Linked DNA regions of Homo sapiens: regions 2 and 3 are each linked to region 1. Evidence: promoter capture Hi-C in human tissues and cell types (Jung and others, 2019). All regions are on one chromosome and are shown on one strand. Each heading gives the region's core, a stretch centred on a gene start or on the middle of the fragment in contact. The rest is flanking DNA. Distances are from core to core; before and after follow the strand shown. Region 1 holds the start of FGFR2 (fibroblast growth factor receptor 2). Region 2 has its middle 78 kb from the start of LINC01153. Region 3 overlaps LOC124902515 (a long non-coding RNA gene).

Region 1 (4,703 bases), core at 211-2,710:
TTTTAAATGTTGATAGCGTTTCACACCAAACACATAATGGGTGCCCTGAGTTTGAAAGCAGGTTTGCCTTTAAGGGTAGGTTTTATTGAATTGGGAGAAAGGAAGGAGGGTCTGGAGAACGGTCTGCAAGGGAGCGGGGTGCGAGGAGAGCGACGGAGGCTGGTGGTCCCCGAGCGGGCCTCCTGCGCCAGGTCCGTGGTCCGCGAGGGTCGGAGCCAGCGCCACGCAGGGCCCTCGGCTTTTTTCCCCAGCGCGGCCCCGTGGCCGAAAAAAATGAGCGCGCAAGTTAGAACTCGCCTGCGCTTTCGACATCTCCCAGCCGCTGCGGCAGAGCAGGCAGGCGAACTAGAAAAAGTCGGTCCAGTTCGCCCCCTAGCCCCAGGCGCACTGCGCTCCCTCCAGCGCCGACGGCGGCTGCGGGCGAGGGGCGCCCAGGCACCGGAGCCGTCGCCTCCCCAGCAGTGCCACCCCTGGCCATCGCCACCCCTACGGGATGTCACCGGCCCCACCCCAGCGGCCCCCTCCCGAAAAAGGGGTCTCCGCAGGGCCTGGATGGTACGGAAGTTCCCAGGACACACGGATGGGGCACCTCGGAGATGACCCCGGGAACCGGCCTGCGGGGCTGTGCCACGGGCAGGCGAACCTTCCGCCCGTCTGCTCTGGGGTCGGAGAAACGCGCCCAGTCAGCGGGAATGCGCCCGCCAGGGTTTGACAGGGAGGGGGGCGTCAACGCCAGAAGCAGATGTCAGCATCTGGATGGGGGTAGCAGAGGCAGAACTTCCAGAACGCCGGCCGTCAGCACGCACCCACCTCCCCCATCACCTATGCAGCCACAGAGGGAGGACACGGAGCGTCCTCCACAATGCTAGTCCTTCCGCGCCCCCCGCCCGGAGGACGGTGCACCCGGCGTCCCGGGCTCCCGTGGCGCCCACGTCCCCGGCTGGCGAAGCTCCCCGAGGCGTCTTGCGCGGCGATTACCTTGAATGGCAACGCTCCTCCGCGACCTGTGTTGTCCCCGCGCCCCGCGTGGGTCGGGATGGAGAAAGCGACGAGCCCGGGGTTGCGGGGAGCAACTCCAAACGCAGAAGAGTGGTCCTTGGGTCTTCGCCGGCGCCAAGCCTCCCGGGCTTCACGCGTACCCCAGGCTGCGGAGGAGCGCGGGCATGACGCCCGCGGGCTGCCCTCGGATTTGGGGAACGAGAGGAAGAAAGGACTCAGGCTTGGCGTTGCCTCCACCAAACTTTGCTCGCGAGTTGCGAAGGCTCAGAGCGCGCAGGCAAGCTGCGGCCTCGGGGCCCCCGGGGCTCGCGGCCGGCCCCCGCCAGCCCGGAGAGCAGTCGCCGCGCCGGGCCAGGTACGCCGCATGCAGCCCCGCGGCGCCCGAGCTTTGTGGCGGCCGCGCGCGCTCCCTCGCCCGCTCCGCACCCGCCGCCCGCCCGCTCGGCTCTCCACCGCGCTCTCCTCCAGCCGCCGCCCGCGCCGCCGCCGCCGCCCCCGCCTCCTCGCGGCGGGTCACGCCCCCACTGAAACCCGAGCCGTTTCCTGGACGGCGGCGCCCTCTCTGCCAATCAGCGCCGCGCGCCCGGGCCGCCCCGAGTCCCGCGCGGCTCCCGACGCCTCCGAGCAGCCGGAGACACCGGCCCGGGAGGCGAGGGCTCGGCCGCGATGCGGCCGTAGGGATGCAGCGACAGCCTCCGAATAAGGCCTGGTCCCGCGCCCCGCGCCACCTCCTCCCTCCTCCCCGGGCGAGCGAGGCTGGCCAACGGCTCGCTGAGCGACTGCGTTACGTTGTTTTATGTCAAGTTAGAAAACAAATGACCGAAGGCTCTAACCCTGCCCTCCCGCTAAAGAGACTTTAAAATGCGCCTGCTTGATACTGCGGGGAGGGTTGCCAGGCAGCTGAAGCTTTTGGAGGAGAGGAAGCCACTTGGAAATGTTCGCAGGACATTGCATGTTTCTGTCCTTCTAAACAATAGAAATGAGAGGAAAAAACTGAATATTAATGGAGGCCCTACTATGGGAGGGTCACACTACATAGGTGATTCTATTTCATCTGCCCAACCACCCTGCAGAGTACTATTCCCAGTTTCTGATAAGGAAACAGGATCAGAGAGGTTAAGTAATTTGCCTAGGACCACACAGCTGGCTACTAGGACAGCCTGACTTTGAATGTGGCTCTCTCAGAAAAAGCCAAAATTGCATCAAAAAAAAAAAGTGTTTAATAATATATGTTTGGATTAATAAAAAGAAATTCAAAGGAGTCTAAAGACAACTCTACCATAAATAGACCTTGAACAAAGTAATTCCTCCCTCTGAATCTTAGATTAAAAATCATAAATGCAAAATCTGATTCTTCAACTGCACACCAAGCTGTAACTGGTTAAAGTTCCTATGTCCATTTACCTTTTCACTAAGCCGTGTCTTCGGAATAATTTATTTTAAATATGCTTTTTCTCCCTCCTTATTCATCCAGCTCCTGAGCAGCCGTGCTTAAGTTCAAGACCATATAGATTAAAACCTTAATTATTTTTCTTTAGAAAAGGTCACTAAACCCAGAAATGCTTTAGAATCCTTTTGAGGCCTGAAGATAGATGAAGCATTGAGAACAAACCTGACTTGGAAAACAGACTTTTCCTGGATTTAGAAACATATTTGCACCTGTGTCACTAACATTGCACCCTTCATAACATTTACAAAAATATTTTTCAAGGTGCTACATGATTAGAAAATCATTTTTATTCACAAATATAGCACAGAAAACGTTTATGCAAGTTATTTAAAAGCCACACAAGTAAGAAATCCATTTAACTGCCTCAGGCAAAAGGCTATAACATTGTATTTTGGAAATTTGATAGCAACAAAATAAAAACTGGTTCTTAAGCAAAATTATCCCTCTATATGCTTGGTGGGAGGGTATGTTTTTGGTCAAGTCCTCTAACCTGGATTAGCCCCAGAGCCTATACATTAACGGACACCTCAGCCCAGGTTGACACTTAGCCATTCACTCCCACACGGGTTGTTCTGATAGCAGTATGTTTTCAAGTTCTCAGAAAAGGGATGCAGCTGAACGTGTCTGCCTGCTCGCAGGTTGCCACTTACATCTTTATATTCCCCACCAATGGGAAACTCGAGTGTCTCAGGACAGTTCCTTTCCCATCCTACACCGCATCCATCAGCCATTGAAAATGCTGTTAACACATTCTCACATAAATTAATGGTGCAGGAAGCCGCTGTCCCTATCCCCCATTCATCAATAGCTTTATGCATGTTGAATGGAAAGGAAGCTTTCCGCTGAAAATGACAAATAAGAACACCTACTTTCATGTCCAGGCACAGTTTGCAGAATGTATTTTTTATAGAAATGAAAAGACACCAATCTATCAAAAGCTCCTTATTCCCTAAAGAGGGCTCATATATAAGGGACTGAAACCCACAAGACCACAACAGGAAACTCTTCAGTTTTGAGGAGGGGGGGGAAGTATGTTTAGAATTATTTTTAAAAAATCAATTATGTCCCCATATTTAGTCTTCAAGTGACCTCAGACCATCCAGGAAAACCTTCACACCACTGAGGCTTCTGAATGAGAAAATAATCTCTTTACAGTTTTTTCTTTTCTCTTCCCTCTTCAAGTGGCTGGAACCCCTTTCGTCAATGGCCTCCCATGAATGGTGTTGCTAATAAAGCCTATTAATGAGCTTCCACGGCGGAGTGTGAATAGGTAAATAAGCCCCAATCTGTTGAGGTTCTGGGGCAAGGGCAGAAAAGCCAGTAAGAACTAAAGGTGACAGTTTGAACTGAACTGCGAACGCCAGCACCAGGTTTCAGCTGAAAGAACCGCCAGACAAGGACACATTCACAGTTCCTCCACCCCCTACTGAGGTCTCTTTTCTTCGCAATTTTCCCCCCTTTACAAAATGTCTTGAGTAGTCACCCTTTTTTTTTTTCAAAAGCCCTCGAGACGCCCTTCTTTTTTCACTCTAGTAATGATACATCAATGGGAAGGAAGAAAAATGAGGACACCAGAACTCCGATGCCCCCAAAAGTTTCAAGAAACAAATTGTGCTGCTAGCCCGTTGGTGATGGGAAGAGAAAGGAGAAGGGGGTGGGAGCGCTCACTACCATGGGCCTCTCTCCTTTGAAGATTTGGAATTTTTCTTTTAATAATTTGTTTTGTAATGGGTGGCTGTTCCTTCACTCTATGGAAACGTTAGATGAAATAAAGGCTGCTGACATGAAGTGCTCATGAACCTTCCCGGGTGGATCTGAGCTCCCTGCAACACCAGGAATTTCATTCTCTAAGCTACATCTCAATAGTGCCCTCGGCATAAAAGAAGCACTCAAATGGAAGGATATAGAATAGTCGGAGGACTATGATAAGAGTATTTACTTCTGGGTAAGGGGAGGGGCTGGATGCTGTGACAGCTCCAGCCCATCTTCAGGGAGCTTGTGGCATTTAAGTGAAGCAAAATCATTGATCCCACTACTGAACAGCATCAATGATTTTAAACTTAGAACTGGGCCTGAATTCCAAAGCCAAGGCTTCCCCGGAGACAAAGTCCTTCTGGAAGTATAGCCTCACTTTGAGGCAAAGGGGAATGGCTTTCTTAAGGTGAGAGGCTGGATGCAGCTTTCTTTACTCAATAGCTTTGTGACCTGTGGCCGGGCGCAGTGGCTCACGCCTGTAATTCCAGCACTTTGGGAG
Region 2 (4,703 bases), core at 823-3,322, 500 kb before region 1:
ATGTGGTTGATTATTTGCTTTATGAAAGTGTTGATTTTTTATGACTCTTTGTTTAAAGCTATTTATCATTGAAAAGGCTGTGCAAGGCCAGATATAGAATTCATTTTCAAAGGTAACTTATACCAAAGAGGCAGCAGTGGTATTATCTGCCATGTGGACTTAAGAACTCTTGTTCTCTGAGTAGGTTTTAAATCAAAAGCGTTAAGTAGAGTTTAAGCCCCGTGTCATTTTAAATTCCAAGCTTTAGATCCATGAAGCATGGATTTTATGATGGAAATGACAACTGACCCTCATCTGTAACAAATACAGCAAACTAACTTTGTGGCTCCCTCAGTAATTCTGAGCAAGTAGTGCAGGCAGATAAGATATGAATGACTAGGAAAATGTGTATAAAATCAATTGCCAACGAGTGGTTCCTGAGGGCTTACCAGTTGTCCTCTCAATGTTCAGCTGGTGTTCCTGTCTGCCTGTGCCCTGGAAAGGGCTTCCTATCTGCCAGTCTCTCGGTAAAATTTTTTATAAGCAACTTTACAGAATTTACCAGTATTTACTGGAAATAATAGTAAAACAATAGCAGTTACCACTTATTATTTACCATATGCCATGTACTAGGCTACATACTTTCATGCTTTATGTCATTTTATCCTTACAACAACTCTGTGAGATAGTTTGCAGATGCTTTTCCAAGTTTTATAGACAAAGAAATTGAGGCTCACAACATTTAATAATTTTCCCAAGGCTGCACAGATTATAACGAGCAATGCTGAGACTCAAACCCAGATCTGTCTGACTCAGACCCTGAGCTCTAATCTATTGCAATAGTCTCACACTTAATCAACCACCCTCCTTGTGTTGCTATCTCCCTAATTACAGTGTAAGCTTCTCAAGAGGAGAGACATGCTATATTCTTCTATGGTATCTTCCAGGGTAACTGGTACAGACGTTCAATACAAGGAATTTATCTGCTAGTTTAAAAAAAATTGTATATTCATAATTCACTGAGGCTTAGAATATCTGTCTGAAAAGTCCCCATCTTTCAGGGAGTTTTTCAGTGCCAGAGCACAAAATAATTTTCTTTAGCGTTCAATTTAAATTTAATCAGCTAAAAACTCACAAACTAGCAAGCCATGTTTGGAATGAAACTCCAGTGAGGCTGAAACAATACAGGAGGTGAGGAGCAGACTTCTTGGAGAAAGCAAAAGAATATGCAAAGACGCATCAATTAATCATACAGTGCTTCGGATGATCAATGTCTCCTTCAACGCGCCACAGAGCTCTGGATTTGAGAGGAGTGTTAGCATTAAAGCTTGATAAAGTTATAGTCATCTCACAAATTCCACTGTCACCTCATTAGATATGAAAAATAGAATGCTTTAGGACACTTGGAGATATTTTCAGTAAAAATAACATTTTTTTCTTTATAAGGGAACTGAAAACCACCTCCTAATTGCATTGTGAGCAGTCATGACAGACTGCACAGCCAGTGGGGTCAGAGCCAGAGGTCTGGTAGTGTAAACTGTCCTCCAGCCTATGAGGGTTTCCTCTCCAAAGAGAAATTGTTGTTAAAGCCTTAATTGAGAGGTCAGTGGTCTTAGGACAGGCAGGAGATAAGCCACCAGCTATGTGAAGTAATGTTGACTTTGATCTGCCAGGCCTTTTGGCATAGAAAGAAAGCCAGCCTTGAGCCAGAGGTTCTCTAATCTTCTTAAAGATAAGCTGTAACTGTTTGGCTGGGGTGGGGGTCCAGAGCAGAGAAAGGATTTCTCTTTTTGTGCTGTGGCCAGACTTATGAATGACTCAGTTACTGCCTGACATCCCTGCCCAGGCTCTAACCATACTCCGGAATGGCAAGGCAACCTGTCCTAAGGGGGCTTGTTGGAAGGAAGAGTCTTGAAGAGAAGACCATTATATCTACGGGAGTTACCACCATTCCCTTCTCAGGAGCTGCTTTGGAAGATGTCCAGTGGATTATTTCTCCAAAGAAAGCCAGGATCAGCAGATAACTGATCAAAATGTCTCAGGAAAGGAAGTGTGGGTGGGAGGGAGAGAAGGAGAGAAGAAAGAAAGATTTGAAGAATTGAGTTGTTCGGGATCTCTGTGCAATTCCAAGTTTATGAAAATAGAATCGTACCACTTAGCAATATATATATATATATATTTATAATATATATATATTGCAAGCATATATATCTATTTATTACAGTATGCATATAGCTATATATGCATATAGCTTTTTTATTTCTCCATAGCAAAAGATCAATTTATAGAAATTGGTGGAGGTTCGTCCAAGAAATGGAATCTTTCTGCTAGAAAGACAGCTCAGAAGTTGGTAAATTCTGCCTTGCCTCTCACTGATTGGAAATCACCGAAATGATTGATTCCTGGGATTGGAAACCACGCAGACAGGAAATAATGGGACCAAATGACTGAAGGGGATCTTGAGCACTCTCAGATGGAGAAAGGATCAGTGCCACTGTCAGGAGTCTTTGTATAACCCTTCTGCCCTTACAGTGTATTTTAAGGCGTCACTTTATAAAGCTTCAGCCAGAGAAGGGAGAGATTTGGGGTGCTTTACAAATGGGTGAGCCAAGATGCATAACTTGTGTTTGGAAAAGAGAGCTCAACTACAAGTAGCACCATTCAGAATAGACATGGATCCTCCAATCCCGAAGTTCAGAAAAAGTTTCTTCCATCCAGTCAGGCACTATAAACTCTGACCCAAACAGAACGTGGGCACCATCTACACTAACGTTCATCCCAGCAACCAAGACTTGGTAGGCATATGTGTACCCTTGTAGCTAGGCATGATGCCACAGTAATGACTGCTTTCCACATCTAGTGGGCTAGACTGCACTTCCACAAGCACCATCTTGCTTTGACTTGAAGATTTCACAAAACTGCCATGAAATAGGTTGTGCTTATTGCCACCTCCCTTTTAGATTTTCAGAACTGGGGTTCAAGAATCGTGGGTTTACATGTTTGGCTAATAAAGGTTGCTTAGCTAATAAGAGGCAGTGACAAAATCTGTACCTAGATCTTTGAATATAAGACAGAAAACATACTAAGGAGGCACCATGCAGCAAGACCCCAATGTCAACTTCCAACTAACATTTTATAGTAATTGGTAATTTAGACTAGAAAGGAACCTCAGATGCCAACTCTCTTCAAGTCGGGAAATTCCCCATGGAAAGACATCCAGACCTAGACTCCCACTCATCCAGTACTTATACCATGGTGAATATCAATATCCATCATGGATCATCAGGGCGTCACCAGCCAATGGAGTCTTCACCTTCTAAAATATTGCTGGTTGCCATGGCACAGGGAAAGAGAATGTGGTAAATTATGCTCTAGCTCTTGGCTCTGCCATTCACATTTCAAGGGCCAAATCAAGTCACATGATCACGCTTAACTTCAAAGGCGGGAGAGAAGTGCCACTCTACTATGTACCAGGAAGGGGGAAAAAAGAAGAATTAGTAAATGTCTTAATGGCTTTCCCAGAGTCCCTCTCATGAATCCAGGGAGATATTGATAATCAGTGTGCTCCATTGAAGTCAGTGGTCACAGATGTGAATTTTGTTAGTGTATTCCTTGAAGAACTTAGCCAAAAATGTTGTCTGGTATTCAACTGAGGAATGGCGTTATCTTAATGTAGCTGAAAAAAAAATGTCATAATGCCTGGAAGAGGCATCTTTGAAGATTTCACAGACAGACAGCAGACCCAGGGAAGATGCTCAGAGGGGAATGCTTATTTTTTTGGAAGCACTGGGGTCGTAAAGCCATGATAAATGTACTCCCCATATCCCTCTACCAGTCTATCTTTTCTGCTCGTAAAAGAGATAGAGAGGAAAAAAGAAAAAGAAAATAGAAACCCCAAAAAGAAATCTGGAAGTAACTGCAGAGTGGGTTCTTGAAAGTGTGGCACAGTACTCTAGAAACAAACAAAGAACATTTGGAAAAAAAGTCTTTAGTTCTCCTGAAGACACAGAATTTCAAAGTAATCCAAAAGCCTCATGCCTGGTCCCCCTTCTTCCATCTCAAATTCTTGAGAACCCTCCTTGGAGCATGCTGAGAAATGGATCTCTAAGTCAACAAAAATTTAATGTCAATTTCTAAGCACCCACAAATTCCTAAAATACAGCAATTTAATATTATTTATCATTTTGATATTATTTATCTCCAAAATATGCATTGCATCATTATCATCAATCGAATATTTTCCCAAAGGAACGAAATTAATTGCCCACCAGAAAAGTTTTGAAATGTTTACATGTATTGCTTTGTATAAGCATGAAAGTAGTGTGTGGGAGCCTGTTTATAAGTTAGCAAAGTGTTAGTAAACTCTGGTTTGACACTGATAAGGTTCATATGAAAGTCATCACTGAAACTGTTGCCTAAATAATAAACAGGATCTCTAGGCCTATCCTTTTTCAAGCATGCCTCATTAGATTAAAAAATATATACTGTACCCAGAAGAAACACATAGTATACAGAAAAGATGGCAGCATGATTGTTGCATTTAGTGCAATGTTTAGGGAGAAACAGCTCTTGGGGAGATCCAGTGTCTCACTGCCCAGGGTCTCAGTTGGGTCAACTGTGGGCAAGTCACTGAGCATTCATTTTCCTCTTTTGCAAAATGGTGATAAGAATATTGCTTTTCCTATAGGGTTTCTGCCGGAACTGAATGAGATAAGTCTTGGAAG
Region 3 (4,703 bases), core at 555-3,054, 450 kb before region 1:
CAGTCTTTTTACATAATCCCACAGCTCTCAGAGGTTTTGTTTGTTCCTTTATTTCTTTTTTCTCTAATGCTGTCTGCCTGTCTTATTTCAGAAAGATAGGCTTCAAGCTCTAAAATTCTTTCCTCTGCTTATTCTATTCAGTTATTGATACTTGTGGTTGCATTGTGAAGTTCTCGTGTTATGTTTTTCAGCTCCCTCAGGTCATTTATGTTCCTCTGTAAACTTGTTATTCTGGTTAACAGCTCCTGTAATGTTTTGTCATGGTTCTTAGCTTCTTTGCATTGGGTTAGAACATGCTCCTTTAGCTCAGCCAAGTTTGTTATTACCCACCTTCTGAAGCCTACTTCTGTCAATTCATCCATCTTAGCCTCTGTCCAGTTCTGTGCCCTTGCTGGAAAAGTGTTGCAATCATTTGGAGGACAAGATGCCCTCTGGTTTTTTGAGTTTTCAGCATTTTTTCATTGATTCTTTCTCATGGTTGTGAGTTTATCTAGCTTCGATCTTTGAGGCTGCTGACCTTTGGATGGGGTATTTTGGGGGACAATTTTTTGTTGATGCTGTTGTTGTTGTTGCTTTCTGTTTGTTTTTCTTTTAATAGTCAGGCCCCTATTTCATAGGGCTGCTGCTGTTTGCTGTGGGTCCACTCCAGACCCTATGCCCCTGGGTCCCTCCCACACCTGGAGGTGTCACCAGTGGAGGCAGCAAAACAGCAAAGATAGCTGCCAGCTCCTTCCTCTGGGATCTGTCCCAGAGGGGCACCGACCTGATGCCAGCAGTAATGCCCCTGTAAAAGGTTTCTGGTGACCCCTGTTGAAGGGTCTCACCCAGTCAGTTACCCTGCTTTGGGCTCCTCATCATCCTTGATTTCTTCTTTCTTAGCAGTCATCAGCAATTTTTTTTTTTTTTTTGCTGCATTTCTTGCTAGAGTATAAGCTCCATGGGGAAGAAACCATGCCTTATTTGCCCTTTATTCCCAGAGTACATAGTAAGTGCTCAATACATATTTCCTAAAATAAATGAACAAGTAAATGTAGAAGTGCCACCTCTCTTTACAGAGCAGCTTCCACCCCCTCCACACCCCTACACCACCAATTGTTATGTTCGCTCAATGGGCTGGACCACCAACTAATCTAGGATCAAGACCAGGGGCAGGGGAAGAAACATGGCTAGAGCCAGTGTTCCTCAGCAGGGTTGCTACCAGTGTTTTGGATGAAATTCTTATTTTAGGAACTTGACATCCTAGACCCCAAATAGTAATGCTTGACTCACTCCTAGTCCCTGTGAGAACCACAGTTCTAGCATCTTACAATGGAGCCACTCTGATCTCTGTTGAAAATGCCCCACAGTCTGAAAGAGACACATGCTAACCACTAACAAAGCACAGGTGTTTGCATGTTACACAAATCCTGCAGTTTTTACTAATAAATGTATTCAGAAAGGTAGGGTAAAATTGCTTATAATAATTAAAATTCTTGTTTCTAGATTTTTCCAAGACTGTCTTGAGGTTAGCATCCCAGGAATTCCTTCATTCCCAGGCAGGCCAGGATGATCAGCAAATCTAGGTGTCAATGTGACCTTTGAAGGATGCATGTTCTTTTCCGGAAGCTGTCCTGCAGGACTATTGAAAATAGGTCTCAGATAATTTTCCATTCTCAGTGTGGTAGAGAATCTCTGATCACACCCTTACCATTGCAGATTGGAGGATGGACTCTTAGAGAGGCATACGACTCTTCCCTGTTCACCCAGTAAAGTTTTTCCATGACAGCCATTTCCTGCTGGCAACATCAACATCCAAAGTAAAGTAAAAAGCAATGTATATGTTACTATATCCTTCAGTCTCTTCAGGAATTCATGCACTCCACTTATCTCTGACTGGCTCCTGGCTGTTTCTAGGAGTGAATAGAGCATGGCAGAAGGCAGGAACTGCACAGGAGATAATAACAAGGCATCCTGTGATCTTCACCCCATGCCTTATTGGATCAACTGTGAAGCCATGAGTACGACCAAATGATTCTGGAATAATAGGACATAAGCAAATGACTAAAATTTCAGGGGCTTTAGTTTCTCTCCAACTAAGAAATGAACTTAGCTGCTTGCCAAATTGCATACTGAGATATTTAAGAAAGCAGGGGGAATTTAACAATTAAAACTATTTCCATCTTAATTTTTTAAAAGTAGGGATAAAGGGCTATAGACCCAAGTTCCAGGCTCCTTCCCTATCTGCCTATCGAGTTACCTTTAACTTGGCGATTACAAGGCAGACGGGAGTGCCTGGATGTGGCCACATGAAAAGCACCTTGGCGGTTATCTCACAGTCGGCCGCTCACAGAACAAGAAGGGTCTTTCATGCAGCGGTGCAGGGCCCAGGGAGCACAGAGATGCTCAGGGCACCTCAGTGTTCCAAAGCAAGTCTTCATATCGCAGCCACTCAGGTGGAAAGAAGGGCCTGCCCCGTGCTCCTCTGCTCACGTCTAGGGTCACAGATGAATAGAGCCTGATTGAGGAGCAAAGCAAGCCTCACAAGCAGCTCGATGATGTGCAGAGGAAGGTATTTTGTTCAAAGATAAGGTTGGAGTCGGGGAGGCTGTGGGGTTCCTGGGGCGGTCAGTTGATATCATCGGAGACAACACAGCATTGCTGAGAATGGCCAGCTCCCTCCTGGCCATGATGAAGCCGAGAGGACAGCGTGGCTTGTGTAGGTGCCAATGGGAACTGTGTCTCCATCTGCTTCCAGGAGGCTTAACTTCCAAGAATAAATAATTGACTTTAAATTTCACCCCACACACTTGTTTGGTGGCCCCAAATAATTTTCCATTCCATAGAACCTCAAAACTACAAGCCATCATTTGTTGAGTACCTCTGCCAGACAGGGGCAAGGGCAGTAAGCACAATGGTTAAGAACACAGGCTCTAGAAGGAGGCTCCAAATCCTGCACAGAGTAGGTGCTCAATGAACAATAACTACTGTGGCTATTATGGACAAACCAAAACAGTGATGGCCACTGGTTGAAAATGCCCATCTGAAAAAAAGAACAAGCATGAACACAGGGTGTCTTTCCATTTATGTATACCCTCTTCAGTTTCTTTCATGAATGTGTTACGGTTTTCAGTGTACAAACCTTTCACCTTCTTGGTTAAATTTATTCCTAAATATTTTATTTTTTGATGCTTGCTATAGTTTAGATGTTTGCCTCTCCAAACCTCAAGTTGAAATTTTCTTGATTTCTTTTTCAGATACTTTGTTGCTAGGGTATAGAAATGCTACTGGTTTTTGCATGTTGATTTTATATCCTACAACTTTACTGAATTTGCTTATTGCTTCTCAAAGCTTTTTGGTGGAGTTTTTAGGGTTTTCTATATATAAGATCATGTCATCTTCAAACAGAAACAATTTCACTTCTTTTTTTCCAATTTAAATGCCTTTTCTTTCTATTGTCTAATTGCTATGATCAGGACTTCTAGTACTATGTTGAACAGCAATTGTGACAGTGAACATCCTTGTCTTGTTCCTGATCTTAGAGGCAAGCCTTCAGCTTTTTACTGCTGATGTAATATAAGCTGTGGGCTTGTTTTATATGTCCTTTATTATGTTGAGGTACATGTATCCTACACCTAATTAGTTGATAGTTTATATCATAAAAATCTGCTAGATTTTGTCAAATGGGTTTTCTGCATCTAATGAAGTGATCACATGATTTTTATAATCTTTATTCTGTTAGTACAGTATATCAAATGTGTTGATTTCCGTATTTCTATGGTTTGAATATTTGATCCCTCCAAAACTCATATTGGAACTTAATCCCCATTGTGGCTGTATTGAGAGGTGGAGCCTTTAATAGGTGATTGGGGAATGATGGTTCTGCCCTTATAAATGGATTAATTCATTCATGAATTAATGGATCAAAGAGTTAATAGATTACTGGGAGTCATGGGAGTGGGACTGGTGGCTTTATAACAAGAGGAAGATAGCTGAATGAGCATGCTCAGCTTCCTCACCATGTGATACCATATGCTTCCTTGAGACTCTGCAGTGAGTCCCCAACAGCAAGAAGGCCCTCACCAGGTGTGGCTCCTTGACCTTAGACTTTTCAGCCTCCATAACTGTAAGAAATAAATTCATTTTCTTTATAAATTACCCAGTTTCAGGATTTCTATTGCAAACAATAGAAAATAGAATAAGACATATATCTTGAACCATCCTTGTATCCCAAGGATAAATCCCACTTCATTATTGTGTATGATCCTTTTAACATGCCACTGAATTGCTAGTATTTTGTTGAGGATGATTGCATCTATGTTCATCAAGGATATTGGCCTGTGATTTTTTTCTTTTGTAGTGTCCTTGTCTGGCTGTAGTATCTAGATAATGTTGACTTTGTAAAATAAGTTTGAATGTGTTCTTTCCCTTCTTTTCTTTTTTTCTCTCTCTTTTTTTTTTTTTTTTTTTTTTTTTGTTGTTGTTGTTGTTGTTTAAGAGTTTGAGAAGGACTATCATTAATTCTTCCTCAAATGTTGTAGAATTCACCAGTGAAGCCACCAGGGCCTGAGCTTTTTGTTAGGAGATATTTTATTACTGAGTCAATCCTTATCCACTATTGATCTGTTTCAATTTTCTATTTCTTCATGATTTAGTCTTGGTAGGCTGTGTGTTTCTAAGAATTTACCCACTTCTTCTAGGTTATCCAATTTGTTGGCATATAATTG

The links. Contacts are between HindIII fragments. The study calls those that stand out against the background at their distance.
Region 2: a contact is called between a fragment that was not itself captured here and the fragment with the promoter of FGFR2 in region 1, in 2 of the 25 tissues and cell types used here (mesendoderm cells and thymus).
Region 3: a fragment that was not itself captured here is called in contact with the fragment with the promoter of FGFR2 in region 1 in 1 of the 25 tissues and cell types used here (dorsolateral prefrontal cortex).

The regions. Positions count from the first base shown.
Region 1 is chr10:121,596,984-121,601,686 of GRCh38, forward strand. FGFR2 (fibroblast growth factor receptor 2) reads right to left here and starts at 1,461. Exons shown (of 18, transcript NM_000141.5): 1 at 979-1,461. RefSeq lists an enhancer at 1-667. The HindIII fragment of the contact is 2,645 bases long and covers 1-2,594 here.
Region 2 is chr10:121,098,162-121,102,864 of GRCh38, forward strand. No RefSeq gene overlaps it. Among named protein-coding and RNA genes, the nearest start is that of LINC01153, 78 kb to the right of the region's middle. The HindIII fragment of the contact is 5,713 bases long and covers 1-4,703 here.
Region 3 is chr10:121,146,683-121,151,385 of GRCh38, forward strand. The region is part of intron 1 of LOC124902515 (a long non-coding RNA gene); the gene reads right to left. The region is part of intron 1 of LOC105378522 (a long non-coding RNA gene); the gene reads left to right. Among named protein-coding and RNA genes, the nearest start is that of LINC01153, 30 kb to the right of the region's middle. The HindIII fragment of the contact is 5,059 bases long and covers 1-4,334 here.